Regions from separate parts of the Homo sapiens genome. Here all the other regions are linked to region 5. Evidence: promoter capture Hi-C in 16 types of primary human blood cells and fetal thymus (Javierre and others, 2016). All regions are on one chromosome and are shown on one strand. The core of a region is centred on a gene start or on the middle of the fragment in contact, and the rest is flanking DNA. Distances in the headings are between cores, read along the strand shown.

The links. The method cuts DNA at HindIII sites, captures the fragments that hold promoters and counts their contacts. A CHiCAGO score of 5 or more calls a contact.
Region 1: a fragment that was not itself captured here is called in contact with the fragment with the promoter of TMEM242 in region 5 in 1 of 17 cell types (activated CD4 T cells); the score reaches 5.2 in activated CD4 T cells.
Region 2: a fragment that was not itself captured here is called in contact with the fragment with the promoter of TMEM242 in region 5 in 1 of 17 cell types (total CD8 T cells); the score reaches 5.4 in total CD8 T cells.
Region 3: a fragment that was not itself captured here is called in contact with the fragment with the promoter of TMEM242 in region 5 in 5 of 17 cell types (fetal thymus, naive CD8 T cells, activated CD4 T cells and 2 more); the score reaches 6.8 in fetal thymus.
Region 4: a fragment that was not itself captured here is called in contact with the fragment with the promoter of TMEM242 in region 5 in 3 of 17 cell types (naive CD4 T cells, activated CD4 T cells and endothelial precursors); the score reaches 6.7 in naive CD4 T cells.
Region 6: a contact is called between a fragment that was not itself captured here and the fragment with the promoter of TMEM242 in region 5, in 6 of 17 cell types (naive CD4 T cells, naive CD8 T cells, total CD4 T cells and 3 more). The highest score is 9.7, in naive CD4 T cells.

Annotation. Positions count from the first base shown.
Region 1 is chr6:158,132,074-158,135,245 of GRCh38, reverse strand. All of the region lies in intron 8 of SERAC1 (serine active site containing 1), which reads left to right. Among named protein-coding and RNA genes, the nearest start is that of SERAC1, 35 kb to the left of the region's middle. The HindIII fragment of the contact is 1,931 bases long and covers 608-2,538 here.
Region 2 is chr6:158,045,061-158,047,937 of GRCh38, reverse strand. The region is part of intron 5 of SYNJ2 (synaptojanin 2); the gene reads right to left. Among named protein-coding and RNA genes, the nearest start is that of SYNJ2-IT1, 45 kb to the right of the region's middle. The HindIII fragment of the contact is 621 bases long and covers 1,052-1,672 here.
Region 3 is chr6:157,975,912-157,978,751 of GRCh38, reverse strand. No RefSeq gene overlaps it. Among named protein-coding and RNA genes, the nearest start is that of SYNJ2, 4.5 kb to the left of the region's middle. The HindIII fragment of the contact is 6,383 bases long and covers 1-2,840 here.
Region 4 is chr6:157,927,913-157,930,812 of GRCh38, reverse strand. SNX9 (sorting nexin 9) reads right to left here. Exons shown (of 18, transcript NM_016224.5): 12 at 2,111-2,214. Among named protein-coding and RNA genes, the nearest start is that of SNX9-AS1, 36 kb to the right of the region's middle. RefSeq lists an enhancer at 1-342. The HindIII fragment of the contact is 2,640 bases long and covers 297-2,900 here.
Region 5 is chr6:157,322,002-157,324,884 of GRCh38, reverse strand. TMEM242 (transmembrane protein 242) reads left to right here and starts at 1,366. Exons shown (of 4, transcript NM_018452.6): 1 at 1,366-1,473; 2 at 2,080-2,180. The coding sequence starts at 1,386. TMEM242-DT (TMEM242 divergent transcript) reads right to left here and starts at 1,251. Exons shown (of 1, transcript NR_187268.1): 1 at 408-1,251. RefSeq lists enhancers at 654-1,083, 1,264-1,603. The HindIII fragment of the contact is 1,401 bases long and covers 1,007-2,407 here.
Region 6 is chr6:157,902,304-157,905,372 of GRCh38, reverse strand. All of the region lies in intron 6 of SNX9 (sorting nexin 9), which reads right to left. Among named protein-coding and RNA genes, the nearest start is that of SNX9-AS1, 11 kb to the right of the region's middle. The HindIII fragment of the contact is 3,736 bases long and covers 1-3,069 here.

The DNA.
Region 1 (3,172 bases), core at 324-2,823, 810 kb before region 5:
ACAGCTTTTTTCTTTTTAAAAAATCTATTTCAGGATCTAGTCTGGTATTAAGCATTGCATGTGAGTCTTGTGTATTTAGTCTCCTTTTACCTGAAAATTTTTTCAGCCTTTCTCTGTCTTCATGACATTGACATTTTTGAAGAGTACAAAGCAGTGGTTTGTAGATTGGCCCTTAGTTTAGTTTGTCTCATGCTTCCTCATGATTAAATTTGAGTGTGCATTTATTACAGGAATACGATAGAGGTGATTTTGTGTCCTTCCCAGTATGTCATGCCCAGAAGCACGTGATGCCAGCTCAACACTTATTGGCTGATGTTTCCTTTGTTCACTTGGTTAAAGTGATGTCTGCCAGTTTTCTCTGCTTGAATGTTAATATATTTATGTATTTGAAATTAATACACGATTTTAGGAGGAGGAGATACTTTGAGATTAGGAGACTGTCCTGTTGCTCTTCAAACTTTCAGCCAGTGGTTTTATTTAATAATAATCTTTGAATGAATGTTGCCTGAATAACAGTTATTGTTAGGTGGTTGCAAAATGCTGAGTTTTTCCCCCTAATTTTATTACTCCTTACTCATTTATTTAGTATTCTTCTGTAGGAAAAGCTTTCTTCTTCCTCTCATTTCTCCTTTCTGCTTTTCTAATCCATATGGGATAACACATGGTTATTTTTCTTCACTAGATTATAATCTCTTACTATCCTTATTCATACTGATGTTCAAATTGTCCCAGGTTTGGCTGTGGGAGCCCCTTCAGGTTGTCTCCCATGTCTTTTGTAAATGGTTTCATTCATTATTTTTGGAGTTCTTGCTTATTTTTTGGTATTAGAAAATGTTCATCTTAGACTTTCCCTGTTCTAGCCCTAGAATAAGCTGATTTTTTAAGCAGGCTTGGTTCCTTTTAGGGCTAATGGTATTTAGTAACCAAGTTCTGGGCTAGGTAAGCTCATTGCTGCTGTCATTGCTTTCAGGCCTTCAGTGGATAGAGCTGGGGAAAGAGGCAGCTTCATATGGTTCCATTCAATATGTACCTTTTATTTTTTAATGACATCAGTGTGAATGCTGTTGATGCTTCACTGAATAAGAACATTGAACTGTTGATCTCAAACCATTGTTGCTAGGGAATGCTGAAAGCAGTGTAGATTTGGGATCACTAGTATGAGAATGTGCAACTTCACCGTTTGGTGATAGTTGGCATTGAAAGGAAGAGTGAATATAACCGTATTTTCAGATAGCTGCAACATGAGATGTGATATGAAAATACCTGTGCTTTCCCTTACTGCTAGAATCACAGGTACTGCTAGTGTTACTGTGGTTTATTGTCTGTGTTCATAACTGAATACTATGCAGAATATCAGTTAGAGGTTAGGAAAAAACAAAGGTAATTTTTTTTTCCATCCAAGTTTACACCCTACCTGCCTTGAATTCTATCTACCCCATACCCCTAAGGACCCTTGTTAAAAACTCTTGCTTTAGAATGAACATCATTTTAAAGCCCAGTTAGTTTGCACAAATCACAGAGCTCTAAGGTTGTAACTTTTTATGAAGAAACACCAGAGATGGGCCAGGTGCAGTGGCTTACGCCTGTAATCCCAGCACTTTGGGAGGCCGAGGCGGGCGGATCACGAGGTCAGGAGATCGAGACCATCCTGTCTAACATGGTGAAACCCTATCTCTACTGAGAATACAAAAAATTAACTGGGCGTGGTGGCACATGCCTATAGTCCCAGCTACTCAGGAGGCTGAGGCAGGAGAATAACTTGAACCCGGGAGGCGGAGCTTGCAGCGAGCTGAGATTGCACCACTGCACTCCAGCCTGGGCGACAGAGAGAGACTCCATCTCAAAAAAAAAAAAAAAAAAAAAAAAATTAACACCAGAGATTAGCTCTTTTATATTACTGTTGCCTTTCCATTTTTCTACCTATTCCTTTTTTTTTTTTGTCTGTTTGAGACAGGGTCTCACTCTGTTGCCCAGGCTGGGGTGCAGTGGCATGATCATGGCTTACTGCAGCCTTGACCTCCCTGGGCTAGGCAATCCTCCCACCTCAGCCTCCCGGGTAGCTGGGACAGCAGGTGTGCACCACCTTGCCCAGCTAATTTTTTGTAGAGATGGGGTTTCACTGTATTGACCAGGCTGGTCTTGAACGCCTGGGCTCAAGCAATCCACTTGTCTCAGCCTCCCAAAGTGTTGGGATTACAGGCGTGAGCTACCACGCTCGGCCTGTACCTACTCTTTATTATTGTTTTTAATATTGTCATTCTCTAGCTTTTCCTGTGCACTTCCTTAATCCTTATAAAATTATTTTTTGTTGCACTCATAGAATTTGATGTTTGGTGTTTCTTAAATCTTTATGAATTTATTTAGTCTTGTCATATCTTAGTTCAGTATAAAGTAGCAGTAACTATGTACATTTATTTTTACATTAGGGTTTAGAATATAATCCATACAACCATACTGTGAGTTTGTTCCTTTGTATTCATTCCTTTTTGCTTGTACTTCTTACTGCCACAAAATCTGCCAATTCATAGGTAACAAGCTTCGCCAAAAGTGAGAATGAAATGGGAACTGCACTCTACATCACACTGCGGAAATGGCCAAGACAAATGAAAGTCCTAGATCATTTTTCTTTGCCTTCTCTCCTCTCTGTCCTTGGGGAATTTAGAGTAGAACTAGATGAGATAGATAATTCAAGGGTACAAGGTGGGAAGAGGGGTTTGGGGGAGCCAGGATGTGGCGATAAATCTTCAACTAAAAATTCCTACCCCCCGACAAAGCTTACCAATCCACTATTTACCATTGTCTCTGCCAGAGAAGGACGACTTTTCATGACTTAGCCCCATCTCAGTCCTCAGTTTAAATGATGTGACTCTGAGATCCAAGCATGTTTAAATTTAGAAAAAAATAATATTATATACGAGAAGAAGGCATGAATAAAAAGTATAGAGTGGCCAAAAATTATTTTTAGTTGGTTTACTGAACCATGGACCTTATAAATTAACTAAAAATGCAGAATCTTATGGATTATATTTCCTATGGAAAACACTGGGCTTTATATTAATATATACATTTTTTAGCCATTACCTTGTAGTTGTCCTCTTTTGCCAGCAGGTGGGCTGTATGCACACAATTATGACCCTAGCTCCAAAGTGAAGCACTTCCAAAGCACCTACAG
Region 2 (2,877 bases), core at 113-2,612, 720 kb before region 5:
GCTCACGGCACCAAGAGCCATGCTTCTCCGGATGCCACCATTGGTTTTATCTCCTGGGTGTTATCATTTGTTTCTATTAGTATCAATAGCAGCTGCCATTTTGAGTACTTTTTAGATTCTAGATACTGTGTGTTTTTTTTTTTTTTTTTTTTTTTTTTTTTTTGACAGAGTCGCACTCTGTTGACCAGGCTAGAGTGTGGTGGCACAATCTTGGCTCACTGCAAACTCCGCCTCCCAGGTTCAAGTGATTCTCCTGCCTCAGCCTCCTGAATAACTGGGATTACAGGAACCTGACACCATGCCTAGCTAATTTTTGCATTTTTAGTGGGGATGGGATTTCACCATGTTGGCCAGGCTTGTCTTAAACTCCTGACCTCAAGTGATCTGTCCACCTTGGCCTCCCAAATTGCTGGAATTACAGGCATGAGCCCCCATGCCCAGCCAAATTCTTATATTACGCTCTTTAATCCTCTCTAGAACCCTATAAGGTAGATATTGTTAGCCCCATTTTACAGAAAAGTAAACTAAGGCTTGGCACAGATAAGAGCCTCTCAAACACACATGGTTACAAAGCAGGGGAGCCAGAGTTTGAATTTGAGCCCAGGTCTGCGTCGCTTCAAAGCTCGTGCTCTGAGTCACTGTCATAAACTGGCTGTGACTGTGGTTCTTTCTGTGGTGGCTGCGGGGAAGCTTGGAACAAGCGTCAGGTTCCTTCCCACGCACACAAGACCCACGGCATGCATCGTGGGCACCAATTCGACTCTTGCCCTTCATCCAGACCTCTTCACTTATTTTTGAAACTGTTATACTACAAGCCATCTCATGTCCTTTTTGGAAAAAAGGAAGGTACAAACACACAAGCCCATCCAGCGCCACGACTCCACAAACTTGGCGAATGGTTTCTGGCAGGAAAGAGGTGAAGGCAGGGCAAGAGGGGTCTGCTCTACTCGGCATCCTCCTCCGTTTGGTTCAGTTGCAGGAAACTTCAAAAGACAGACTGAACTCACCTTGGCAAGGCACGTGTCTATACAGCATATGGTGGGGGGAAGCTTCTACAATGACCAGGGGAGCAACGTTGTCAACCACAGACACAGATCATAAATAGATTCTCGAACTAGCTAGACCAGGGAGCAATTTGCTTTAAGGGTAAAATTTCAATGTGGCTATTTATAAACTGCACAGCCCATTTACACGTAAAAATGAAATTTATTAAAGGTACACGGCTGCTAGAAATGGAGTCAGGAAGTACTGAAGGTACCATTACCCAGGAAAACATGCAGACAAATCCTCATCCACCACCCTCTGCTCAACCCTGCCCCATCCTGCTGGGCTCCTGGGTTTCCAACGGCAGCTGTCAAGGAGGGACAGCATTGCAGCTTAATACGCAAGCTACTCACCCCAAAATCTTTGCACTTTTCATCTAACCTAAGTGAAGAAGGAAGAGAAAAAGTTCAAAGTGGAGAAAAATAACTAGAAGCAGCCTTAGGCTTGATAGTGACAGTTGAAGCCGGTGACGGTAGACCACCACTTCCCGCTGCCCTCCCGGCCCCCTGTGAAGATGACTTCATCTCTCTTTGATGATGAGTGGTGTTTAGAGGCTAAACACAGGTATTAGGCCCAAAGGTTAGCAAATCCTTAATAAGATTAAGGAACACTAAAGCCTTCTGAAGCTTGTTTTGAAGAAACCATGGAGGCCGGGCGCGATGGCTCACGCCTGTAATCCTAGCACTTTGGGAGGCCGAAGCGGGCAGATCACTTGAGGTCAGAAGTTCAAAACCAGCCTGGTCAACGTGATGAAACCCTGTCTCTACTAAAAATACAAAAAAAATTAGCCAGGCATGGTGGTGGGTGCCTGTAACCCCAGCTACTTGTGAGGCTGAGGCAGGAGAATCTCTTGAACCCAGGAAGTGGAGGTTGCAGTGAGCCGAGGTCGTGCCATTGCACTCCAGCCTGGGTGACAGAGCAAGACTTCGTCTCAAAAACAAAACAAAACAAGAAACAAAAAGAAGAAACCATGGAGGCTTTGGTGCAGCACAAATGTTAGGAATTTAAGAGGGTGAAACAGCTGCCAAAAAGCTGAGACCTCGTGGTCCACTGCTCCTGGCCCCTGACAGACCAAGGCACAGTCATCCCATGGCGGGTCAGGCTACATCTGAGGCAGCACGAAGGTCAAGGTAAGACCAAAATGAAATCCAAGAGGGGAACGACAAAAAGGAGTGTCATTTTTTAGATGAGGGAGATGAGAACATTGAGAGTCTTAGAAACAGGAGGGAAGGTGGCCAAAGGAGTTGGGAGGCCTTAGAGAAGACAAGAAGAAGAAGAGGGAACCAGAAGACTCCCTCCAAGGACTGAGGGTGAGTCACACGGAGAAGAATCAGACATATTCCCGCGCACCCCAAAACACTCTAGAGTCAGACAGACGCAGCAGTGCAATACAGGAGGAATTCACCAAGAGTCGGAACCATCCCCAGTTGTGGCCTGGAGGACAGCCCTTTGGAGGTCCTGGAAGAGGATCCCTGAACTGGCCTGGCTAGGTGCGGTGGCTCACGCCTGTAATCCCAGCACTTTGGGAGGCTGAGGCGGGTGGATCACCTGAAGTCAGGAGTTCAAGACCAGCCTGGCTAACATGGTGAAACTCCATCTCTACTAAAAATACAACAAAATTAGCTGGGTGTGGTAGTGGGCACCTGTAGTCCCAGCTACTCTGGAGGCTGAGGCAGGGGAACGGCTTGAACTCGGGGGGCAGATGTTGCAGTGAGCCGAGATTGCACCACTGCACTCCAGCCTGGGCAACAGAGTGAGACTCCATCTCAAAAAAAAAAAAAAAAAAAAAAAAAAGGAGGACCCCTGAACTGAGAGTCAGAGGGTGGAATGGAT
Region 3 (2,840 bases), core at 251-2,750, 650 kb before region 5:
CACAGGCTGTACAGGAAGCATGGTGCTGGCGTCTGCTTCTGGGGAGGCCTCAGGAGGCTTACAGTCATGGTGGAAGGCAACCAGGAACCAGCATGTCACGTGGTGAGATTAGAGCAGGAGAGCTGGGGGGAGGTGCCGCACTCTTTCAAACACTCAGATCTCCCGTGAACTAACTGAGCAAGAACTCACTTATCATCAAGAAGATGGTACTAAACCATTCATGAGAGGTCCACCCTCATGATGCAATCCTCCCACCAGGCCCCACCTCCAGCACTGGGGATTACATTTCAACAGGAGATTTGGAGTGGACAGACATCTAACCCCTATCAGAGCCCGAGCCGAGTAAGACAGGAGAGGTTTAAAGGAAATACAAATCTGTATTTGGTGCCTGATTGTATGATATGAGCTGCACAAAGGAAAGTGGGAAGTCAGACAGGACCCTGGCATTTTGAGAATGGGACAGCAGCGATACCATCCCAGAGTGAGGAGGAGGCGAGTTTAATTGGAGACAGAGACCGGGTGGGCAGGTCGTCCAGTGGGAAATGCCTACAGATGAGGGGCCAGAAATGAGTATGGCAGCGATCAAAGGGGAGTGGAGACAGACAGGGGTAGAAGGCAGGGGCAGGAGGAAAAGACGATCAAGAAGTACCCCGAGAAAGCAGAGGGGCCAAGGGCGTGACCTGGACAGCTCTGGATCTCACATGAACTGAGTGAAAACTCATCGTCTAGAGGATGGCGCTAAACCATTCCTGAGGGCTCCTCCCTCTCAGAAAAGGAGGCATTTTTTAACAGACCGGAAGGAGGTAAGAGAAACAGCCATCAGGCATCTGGGGCTACAGCCTCCCACATGCAAAAGCCCTGAGAGGTGACTGGTTTAAAAACCTCAGGAAGGTATCCAAGAATCAGGACTCAGAAAAGAAACTTGGTTTGGTGAGAAGGTAACGGGGACCTTTGAGGGGGCAGCTTCACTAGAGGGCTGGGCAAAAAAGCCAGCTTGCAAAGAAATAAGGAAGAAATGGCGCTGTGAGTGTAGTCTGCTGGCTCTGGAAGCCAGGCTGGGAGAAACACAAGATGAACAGAATGGGGGGCAGACGGGATAGCAGAGACCCTCGAGGACTGGCCAGACCTGCACATGGTGGAAGGCAAATAGCAAAGAGCAGAGCAGGAGAGCTCACTCCCCAGCACAGAGAGGCACCTGTCTCTAGAGGGGAGAAAGGAAGTCCCCTGAAAAGGAGGTGGCAGGATCTTCAGAGGGAGGGAGAGGAGGTTGGGAGGACAGGTATGGAGGCAGAAGGGAGCAGGCAGTGGGACAGGGCTGTGGGCAAGCTGGAGGAGGAGGCGCCATCCTCCCAAGAACTGGCCCTTGGTGAGCTCCCCATGAGGACACGAGGGTGGGAATGGGAGTTAGCGAGAGTGGGAAAGGCCCAGGACGCTGGCCACGGTGCACACAATCTAGAAGTCATAGTCAAGATCCTCTGGGCCTAAACCCAGGGTGGACTGAAGTACTGGAGGTAGCCTTGGCTGACCGGCTCTCTGGTTCCTCTGCAAAACGAGGAGAAAGCCTCAAGCCTGCCAGTTCTAACTGAAAATCATATCCAGGCTCGGAGCACGGTTCACTGGCTCACTGTTTCAGGTTTGGTTCCCTGTGGCAGGGACTCTGAGCAGGGGATGTGCCTGCGGGGTCTGTGCTGGGGAGAAAGATGGACGGGGAGGGGGAGGATGAGGAGTCGAGTTGCCTGAGTGCATCCGGCGGTCCTGGCTTCTGAAGAGGGGCGACCTGGGCAGGGCACCCCAGCCGGGAGCAACACTCGCAGCACTGGGGGAATAGATGCTCCCTCCAGGACCTACAGTTTGAGGTCAGGGCAGACACCCACTGTCCCCACCTGGTCTGGCATCTTTAGCTTGGATCTAGTCACCCTTCTTCTCCCCAACCTCGCTGGCAGCCAGAGTGGCCCTGCTGACACCGTCAATCTGCACAGCTCACTCTGTGGAGGCTGAAGTCCAGGCGCTCTGTGGTCTGGCCGGTCTCCCGTCCCATATGTGGCTGCTCTCTGCCTTGTCCAGCCAGGCTCGCCGTGGTCCTCATGCTGGTGCACCAGGTGAGCCCCCACACAGGGCTTCTGCATGTGGAAGGCAGCTGCCCCAGAGGCCCGACGCTACTTCTCTTACCTCCTTCACAACCATCAAAAAACAGCTTCTTAGTGAGGCCTTCCCGAGCCTCTCTATCTAAACTTCCTCCCCCCATCCACTCCGTTATGAGCTGAATTTTGCCCCCCAAATCCATGTGTTGAACTCCTAACCCCCAGTACCTCAGAATGGGACTGCATTTAGAGGTGTGATCTTTAAATAGATGGTTAAGTCAAAAGGAGGTCTTTGGGGTAGGCTCTAATCTATCAGGACTGGAAATTTTTGCCAGGTGCGGTGGTTCACGCCTGTAATCCAGCACTTTGAAAGGCCAAGGCAGGAGGATCACTTGAGGCCAGGAGTTTGAGACCAGCTTGGACAACATGGTGAGGCTCCGTCTCTACAAAAAATTAAAAGAAAGATAGGCAGGCATGGTGGCATGCATCTGTAGCCCCAGCTACTCAGGAGGCTGAGGTAGGCGGATCATGTGAGCCCAGGAGTTTGACATTACAGTGAGCTATGGTCACACCACTGGACTCCAGCCTGGGTGACAGAGCGAGACCCTGTCTCTTAAAACAAAAAACAAAGGCCGGGCGCAGTGGTTCACGCCTGTAATCCTAGCACTTTGGGAGGCCGAGGAGGGTGGATCGCTTGAGCCTGCGAGCTCAAGACTAACCTGGGCAACATAGTGAAACTCCATCTCTACACAAAATACA
Region 4 (2,900 bases), core at 367-2,866, 610 kb before region 5:
CTTTCATTTATACTTTAGAGCAACGGTCCCCAACCTTTCTGGCACCAGGGACTGGTTTCATGGAAGACAATTTTTCCACAGATAGACAGTGGGTCGGGGGGATGGTTTGGGGATGAAACTGTTCCACCTCAGATTATCAGGCATTAGATTCTCATAAGGGCTCACAAGCTTGTATGCGTGGCTCTTAATAGGGTGCAAATTTCTATGAGAATCTAATGCCACCGCTGATCTGACAGGAGGCGGAGCTCAGGCGGTAATGTGAGTGATGGGGAGCACCTGTAGATAGAGATGAAGCTTCACTTGCCTCCTGCTGTGCGGTAATGGTCCATGTACCAGTCCATGGCCTGGGGATTGGGGGCCTCTGCTTTAGAGAACAACGTCAACTTTGCTTTTTGTTCCTGAGTCATCCTCTATGACTAAAGTCTTGACACAGGTTTTGTTTTCTAGATGCTGCATTTGTATACATTATTTTCTCAGGGCTAATTCTATATATTTAGGATACAGCATCATATTTCTTTGCCATGGGAAAGAAACAACTGTTATTCCTGATGTCTGCCCCTCAAGCACGAACAGCTGGTATGCTACAAGTTGTTTTGTTGGTATAAGATAATATGTGGATGGTAAAGCACCACTGGTACTGGTATTACTGCTAGTAGAGGAAGAGGCAGAGGTAGTTATTGGCCAATGGTTGAGGTAAGGCAGGGCCTGGCAAACTTCCTCTGCAAAGTGCCAGATAGTAAACGTTTTAGGCTTTATGGAGCCACAAGTTTCTGTTGAAACTACTCAACTCTACCATTATGACACAAATGTAGCCAAAGACAATATACAAATAAATGGGCATGGGTGTGTTCCAATAAAACTTTATTTACAAAATAAGTGGCAAGCCAAATATGGTGCTCGGACCATGGTTTACTGACTCCTGATGTAAGGCTTTGGATTTTCAGATCTGGATTGAATAGTAATACTGACATTGTCTTTGCTGTGCTATCTTATTAATTCATCTACAAGTCACTCCATATTTAGTTTCCTCTCTTTAAAATTATTATTGGATTTCAAATTCTGATTGTTTTCTTTTTTTAGTGTAAAAATATCACCTTTAAAAAAATCATTACAAGAACAGATCCCTTTCCTATGCTGAGCATCAAAGGCTGATAGAAAAGTAGGTATATGTTACTCATAATTCAAAATATAAAACATTTTTTTTAACTGAATACAACCAATATTCCTGTATGGTGTTATGAGGTGAAGGCCAGAAAATTCTTAGTGATAGATTAGAAGGCCCTGTTCTCTAGAGGTTAAGACACAGCAATAAGGGCAGACCAGATATAAAGGAGAGAAGTCCTAGGACTCTAAGGGAGTTAAAGGCATCTGCGCATGGGACAGCAGTGCAGTCGCAGCATTTCAGGGCCTGACAAGTCACTCTGCAGCCTCTGAGCCTGTGGGTGTAACAGGGCAGCAGCCCGTGGCATTAGCCCTACAGCTGGATACGGGACTATTTTTCTATCCTGGGCCACATGTGTGGTGACAGAGCTGCACAGTTCTAGGAAATACAGGAAAAACCTTCAGCAGAATGAAAGCCTACAAACAAAGGAGAAGGAGGGAGGCAGGAAGTTCTTAGGGACACAGCAGAGTGGTCAGAAAGCCGTGACTGACAGCGACACTCTCCCCTCGGCAGTGCTTCTGCTGTGACATATTTTCTACTACTAACTATATTGGTTTTTCTAAACACTATGGTTTTAGTCAAATACACAACATCTTACCAAATGGATGAAGATTAAAAAATAAAATCATGAGACTAAGAATAACTACAAGCACTCTGAAAACATGCAAAAATGATTAATTTTCCAAAGATTATAAAGCCCCAAATTACTGGAACTAATTAAGTGAACGTGGTGTTCCCTATGAGATTTCTTAACCTGGCTTTGCTGGTCAGTTTTCTGTGGTTTAACTCAGGTGAAGTGAGATCAAGCAGAATCACAGGAGGGACATTACTGCCGTCCACCAAATACACTTCTGTTCGAGGCAGCAGGTTCCCCTCTATGATAAGGGACATAAAACTGAGCCTGCATCACCCCCTACGAGCCCAGTGCACTGTGAGGAGTGGACTTACGGCCCGTGCAGCGCTTCCAGTGCTCCTGCCCCACCGTCAGCAGCTCCTTCACGCCGTCATCCATGGCCTTGGTGAACTTCCCCACAGCCTCGCACTTCTGCTCTCTGTGGGTGAAGGCGGCCGTCAGTCACATAAGCAGGAGAAACAGCACTGCTGTGGGGATACTCGGGCCAAATATAACCACAGACACTTGTTTTCTTGCATGATAACAACTCCCCTTTCACTAAGTTAGCCTTAAATACAGGCTTGATGCAGACATTTAAAGAACTACTTAAAAAGCGCTGATTTATATTTTAACTTCGCTTCCTTTCTGCCTATACAATTCTTTGTGAATTTTAAAATTATTCTAAAGTAAATAAAATAATAATTTCTTGAATATCTTATTTAGGAAAATTCCAATCACTGGGGGGACCATCAAATCTATAAAAGAATAACAGGGGTTGCTAATGCTAGCTGGCCATTCATTCCAAGTACTCCATGAAACGGAGACAATAACCTGGATACACAATCACCTAAGTGATCCTAAAGATACCAGTTCTTTCTAAGGATGTCAAAAGTGTATTTACCAACCTGAAAAGATCACAATATACTGTTAGATGAAAAAAGCAGATTATAAAACAAAATGTCTAGTGTGAGGTCATTTTTGTTTAAACAATCTTTCCTATAATTACATACGTACAGAGGAGGATTTGGGAGACTAAACACTAACATATTAACACTGATTTTCTCTCTGCGTGGTTGAAGGGTTATGTGTGTGTGTGTGTGTGTGTGTTACTTGTCTATACTTTTG
Region 5 (2,883 bases), core at 117-2,616:
AGTTTCACTCTTGTCATCCAGGCTGGAGTGCAACGGCTCGATCTCGGCTCACTGCAACCTCTCCCTCCCAGGTTCAAGCCATTCTCCTGCCTCAGCCTCCCGAGTAGCTGGGATTACAGTCCCGCATCATTAGACTCCGCTAATTTTTGTATTTTTAGTAGAAACGGGGTTTCACCATGTTGGCCAGGCTGATCTCGAACTTCTGATCTCCACCTGCCTCAGCCTCCCAAAGTGCTGGGATTACAGGCGTGAACCACCGCGCCTGGCCTACTACCAGTTTTTAAATTTTACAGGTGAGGAAACTGAGCTATAGAGGGGCTAAGTTACCCCAAGTTCACACACCTGAGAAGCGGTTTAGGACCCGAGCCCAGGTTTGAGCTATTAACTGCACTTCACTGACGCAAAAATGGATGCATTCATTTACTCATTCATCCAACATGCATTTGATGTTGGTAACCAGTTAATATCTGAAAGCTGGGGGATATAAACTGAACATAGAGTCCCATCTCCATCCTCAGGAAACTCATGCCCTCCGGTGATGGGGGGCAGGACAAATAGCAGAGAGACCGCCTTATTTTACAAGATGTCATTGTTCTCTGAGAGGCTGAAAAGATTTTCTATCACCACTAGCCTCCTCCTCTCCACGGCCATTTACAGAATGGGCAAACCAGCCTCCCAGCGGAAGACCAAGCTTGCTAGCGGTCAACGTTGCCGGCAGCTCTGCAAGCGCTTCCAGCGGGCGTCGCTCTCCTTTCGGGGGTGGTACTTTCATTCGGTCATCCTGTGAGTGTTCCACTTCCCGACGGAGGCCGAGCACTCACACCGCGGCGGAGGTACCCGTCACCGCAGAACCGGGTGGCTGGCTCTCCTCCAGGGAGAAAGCCTGTCACTTATTCCTCAACACTGTTGGGAAGTTACCTAGAAAAGTACAGACAGAAGACCTAGGCTTGCGTTTTAGAATCGTGGAGTGTTAGCGCTGGCCAAATCGTTGGACACAATGTAAGCTTGATCAGGAAAATGAGCTCCAGGGTCTCACAGGCGGGGCCTGGAATCTTGGCGCAATCTGCGACCCTCACTGCCTCCTACAGTCGGGGCTGAGCGTTCTTTCAAACAGCCAAAGTAATCACTTAAGTCCAGCAATGATCTCCTTGGAGAAATCAAAAGATCCTCCCTAAGAGACGGCCTTGGAGGGCATCGCCCCTGGGGCTGGGCACAGCACGTCTTCCCGGCCCCGGCGCGGGAGGAGGGTTTGGGGACAGCGGCCGCACTCCGGACCCTTCTTCAGATTGCACAGGAGGAGGCGGTAGCGGAACCTTTCTCCTCCGCCTGGTTCTCGCTTCCACCCGGGCCCAGTTGGGGACGGACGCACTAGAGGCGACCTAAACATGGAGACAGCGGGCGCTGCAACTGGGCAGCCGGCCTCTGGGCTGGAGGCTCCGGGGTCCACGAATGACCGGCTTTTCCTGGTTAAAGGTAAGATGTGCTGTGGTGAGGTGCGGGCGTCGGGGTGAGTTAACCCCGGACCCTGGCTTGCTCTGGAGCGGGCATTCCCACACACATCCCGCTCTGAGAGCCCTTAGCTTGTGCTTGCCCCTGAGTTTAGCCCGCGGAGTCTGGCGGCCCAGGGAGGGTAGGTCGCTTACTGGGTGGAGTCTCCCCTTGGGCGGGGCGGGGGGCAGATCCCGCGAGCTATTCTCCCGGGCGTGCCATATTTCCCCGTCACCTCTGCAATTGTTCTAGAGCCTTGCCTTTTCTGATTGCCATCGTCTCTTCTCCTCCCCGTGAGAAACTTCACGCTGTGGTCCCAGGGGAGAGGGGAAGGGAAGCTGAACCTTTTCTCTGCGCTCGGGAATAATAATTCGGAATGACCCAAGGAACCAGAGGTCGTGCGGTCACGCGTGTTTCTCAGCCGCTGTCATTTACTGTTAGCAAGAGCTGCTTAGCCATGGTTTCTTGAATTTCAAAAGTGATTTTGATTGTAACTCGAATAGTATCTTAAACTTACTTTTGTACATCTTTTTAACCTCTTTTTATTTAATTTTTTTTAATATCCCCCCTCCTCCCCGAAACTCTTGGCAGGTGGAATTTTCCTTGGTACCGTTGCTGCAGCGGGAATGCTAGCTGGATTTATTACAACATTATCATTGGCTAAAAAGAAAAGCCCTGAATGGTTCAATAAGGTTGGTGACACTGAAATCCATTCATAGCATTGTTATTGTTTACAATATATGGCAGCTTTTGCGTAGAAAAAATAAAATATTGATGGTCTTTCACATTGCTTTAAGATGTGAATTTATATACGCTCATGGATTCTAGAAATGTACAAATTAACCAAGTCTTTATTTTCATTTAGAAGGATGTACTTATGTGCTTTCTTAAATTTTAGCGGAACAAGACTTTGAAAGCTTATCTGGTACATTTCCTATTCACAACATGACTTTGAATCTAAATTTGGGCCAGGCATCGTGGTTCATGCCTGTAATCCCAGCACTTTGGGAAGCCGAGAGGGGCAGATCACCTGAGGTCAGGAGTTTGAGACCAGCCTGGCCAACATGGCGAAAACCCATCTCTACTAAAAATACAAAAATGAGCCAGGTGTGGTGTGGCACTCCTGTAGTCCTAGCTACTCGGGAGGCTGAGGCAGGAGAATCACTTGAACCCAGGAGGCTGAGGTTGTAGTGAGCCCAGATAACACCACTGCACTTCAACCTGGGTGACAGAGCGAGACTCTGTCTCAAAAATAAATAAATAAATATTCACACAAATAACTGTGTAATTACAATTTGATGTGTGCTATGGAGGAAAAGTGTTACGTAAAACATCATAAAAAGTCAAGTTTCCTTTCCACTTACATTTATCTTTAATAATCATACTTAAGCCTTA
Region 6 (3,069 bases), core at 52-2,551, 580 kb before region 5:
GTAAACAGAAGAAAAGGAAGCAAAATATCTACAATGGGAAAAGGAATCTTATTTCTACGAAGTTCCAGTCGCATTGCTTCTACTTTCATTCATGTGCCAAGCCAAAGGCCAGTGTGATGCTCTCAGGGGCCCGTGTCTTCTTTTCCTGCATTCTCAGCTGACTTCCCTTGAGTCTCCTTTCTCTAGACATTCCTTTAAAACGCAGCTTACACAAGAGACCAGATGTGTCCTGCAGCTGGATGGCATGGGGTTTGAATTCTGACTCCAACACTTAGGTAGCCTTAGGGGCTGAAATCTCCTTGTGGAAGAATGAGACCAGAATGACCTACCTTCTAAGGTGATAAGGGAATTAAAGATTTATGTAAAGAACCTAGTATGTACTCAGTACATTTCAGTCATTGGCAACTAAGTCATCCTCTCTTTGGAAGTACTCCCTGCAGCCGCAGGTAGAGTCTTCCTAGGCATTTTGAGCATATTTTGTGATTCTATTCATCACACCTGACTGCCGCTATCCATTTACCTATTACAGCAGCCAGAGGGACTTAGAGGAAGCATTTGTGTTTTCAGGACCTGGAGGAGTTTTGGGAGCATACTGAATGCTTAATGAATTAGGCTAACCTGCAACACTTTTATTTATTAATTACTCTATTTTATTTATTTTTTTGAGACAGAGTCTCACTCTGTCGCCAGGCTGGAGTACAGTGGCGCGATCTCGGCTCACTGTAACCTCCACCTCCTGGTTCAAGCGATTATCCTGCCTCAGTCTCCCAAGTAGCTGGGACTACAGGTGCGCTTCTGTGGGGATTATATATCATGACAACTCCTTGACCAGCTTGTAAGCATTTCAATTTTTGGGCACTGTTATGGACCACAGAAAAATTTGAGGACAGCAATGTATTAATTATTTCAGCATCATCAAGATGCCTTTTATTTTTTTTTTGGAGACAGAGTCTCTGTGTCGCCCAAGCTGGAGTGCAGTGGTGCCATCTCGGCTCACTGCAACCTCCGTCTCCCGGGTTCAAGCGATTCTCCTGCCTGAGCCTTCCAAGTAGCTAGGATTACAGGCGTGCCACCACGCCCAGCTACTTTTTTATATTTTTGGTACAGATTGAGGTTTCACCATGTTGGCCAGGCTGGTCTCGAATTCCTGACCTCGTGATCTGCCTGCCTCGGCCTCCCAAAGTGCTAGGATTACAGACATGAGGCACTGCACCTGGCCCAAGGTGAATTCTTATAGTGCTCAAGTATATTTAATTTCAGATCTCTTTTTCTAGTATAAGATTTATGTTCCATGACTAGAATACAGCTGTCATATAAAATGGATTAATTGCTGAAAAAGTGTTAATACTTAAAAACATTTTTTATAATTGTTTTAAGTTTAAGTGACTCATTTATACAGTTTAGTTAAATACAAATACACAGGGTGTTAAATCGTTCACAGCACTACAGAGAGACAGAGATGCCTCAGAGGCACAGGTTCAAGTTAGGACTGCTTTAATGTGGTTTCAGCCTGGAATGATATTTTAGAGCAGAAAGAATTCTTAAAGCCAACCTCCTTGCTTTCGAGATGAAGAAACTGAGGTTCCAACAGGTCACGAAACTTGCCTTAAGGTTATAAGCAAATCAGAGAGCAAGTGTGGAGCAGAGGAGAGCACCAAAAACCAGAGTCAGAGACCCCCAGGCATGAGCTGGAACCTCACTCATCAGCCATGAAAACGTGGCCACTCATTTTTCTCAGTCTCTGCTTCCTTCGTTTTCAAAATGGGGCTAATTTATATGAATTTTCAATATACTTTATATTCACATTTAAAGAACAGCTGACAATGATGCACATCACTACTGACCATGACTGAAAACTTCAAATTTGACTCTGAAACAAGACACAGTTGACTAACAAGACAGAGAATTATTCACTTTATTATGCATGCAATTGAGCAGGAAAATATATAATGGAAGAAACTGGGTAAGAGGCAGCAAAAGTGTGCAGTCAAAAGAGAACTCATTTAATCACTGAAGCTATTTAAATATACTTTGGAGAACTTGTAGGACTTATTAAACTAGATCTAGACCTAGATCTTGATGTCTAAATATATGTCAAATGTTATGTTTTTAATTTTTCCAGACACAGATTAACATTCTTTGATATCTGCCTTGAATCATGGAATTGGAATATTGGGAAAAAGTATTAGTAATTTCAAAAAATAAACTAAACATAACTGCTGGAAGGAGTACTTGAAAATTCTGATGGAAGTCATAAATTACTAATATATCTCCTTCAAGCTACACTGGCATAGACTACAGCCTTATTTAGGTCTCTCCAAAGAATCCTACAGTGGTCACTGGTGCCCACATGCTTTCCTGTTAAGTAGGGTATCTACAAGTACTGTTAAAAACTTTTTTTTTTTGGCTAGGTGTGGTGGCTCAAGCCTGTAATCCCAGCACTTTGGGAGGTAGAGGCGGGCGGATCACTTGAGACCAGGAGCTTGAGACCAGCCTGGCCAACGTGGTAAAACCTCGTCTCTACTAAAAATACAAAAATTAGCTGGGCGCGGTGGCACATGTTTGTAATCCCAGCTACTCAGGTGGCTGAGGCACGAGAATTGCTTGAACCCGGGACGTTGGGGTTGCAGTGAACCAAGATCGCACCACTGCACTTCAGCCTGGGTGACAGAGCGAGACGCCTGTCTCAAAACAAAAAAATAAAACACAACACTTTTTTTTTTGTTTTAAATCTAAGAGAAACCTAAGCTAACACAAAGCTCCGGACCACGTTTTTAGGCACAGGAGCTGAAACACGTGCTTTGGCGCCTGAGGGCCTGGCTTCCTGACTGGAACACTCGATGCGTCTCTCTGGGCATCAGTTTGCCTGCAGTAAAACAGGGGTTTTATGTACCACAAAGGGATATGAGGGCTACATGCGAATGATACAAACCTCTCTGCACAATGCCTGGCACATGGCAAGTGATTAACAAAACAGTAAAACATTTAAAAGAGAGTTGTTATTATTATTCTTTTTAGCTTTCCTGTGACATTAGCAATGAAACCTTAATATGTCATAAATTGATAAAG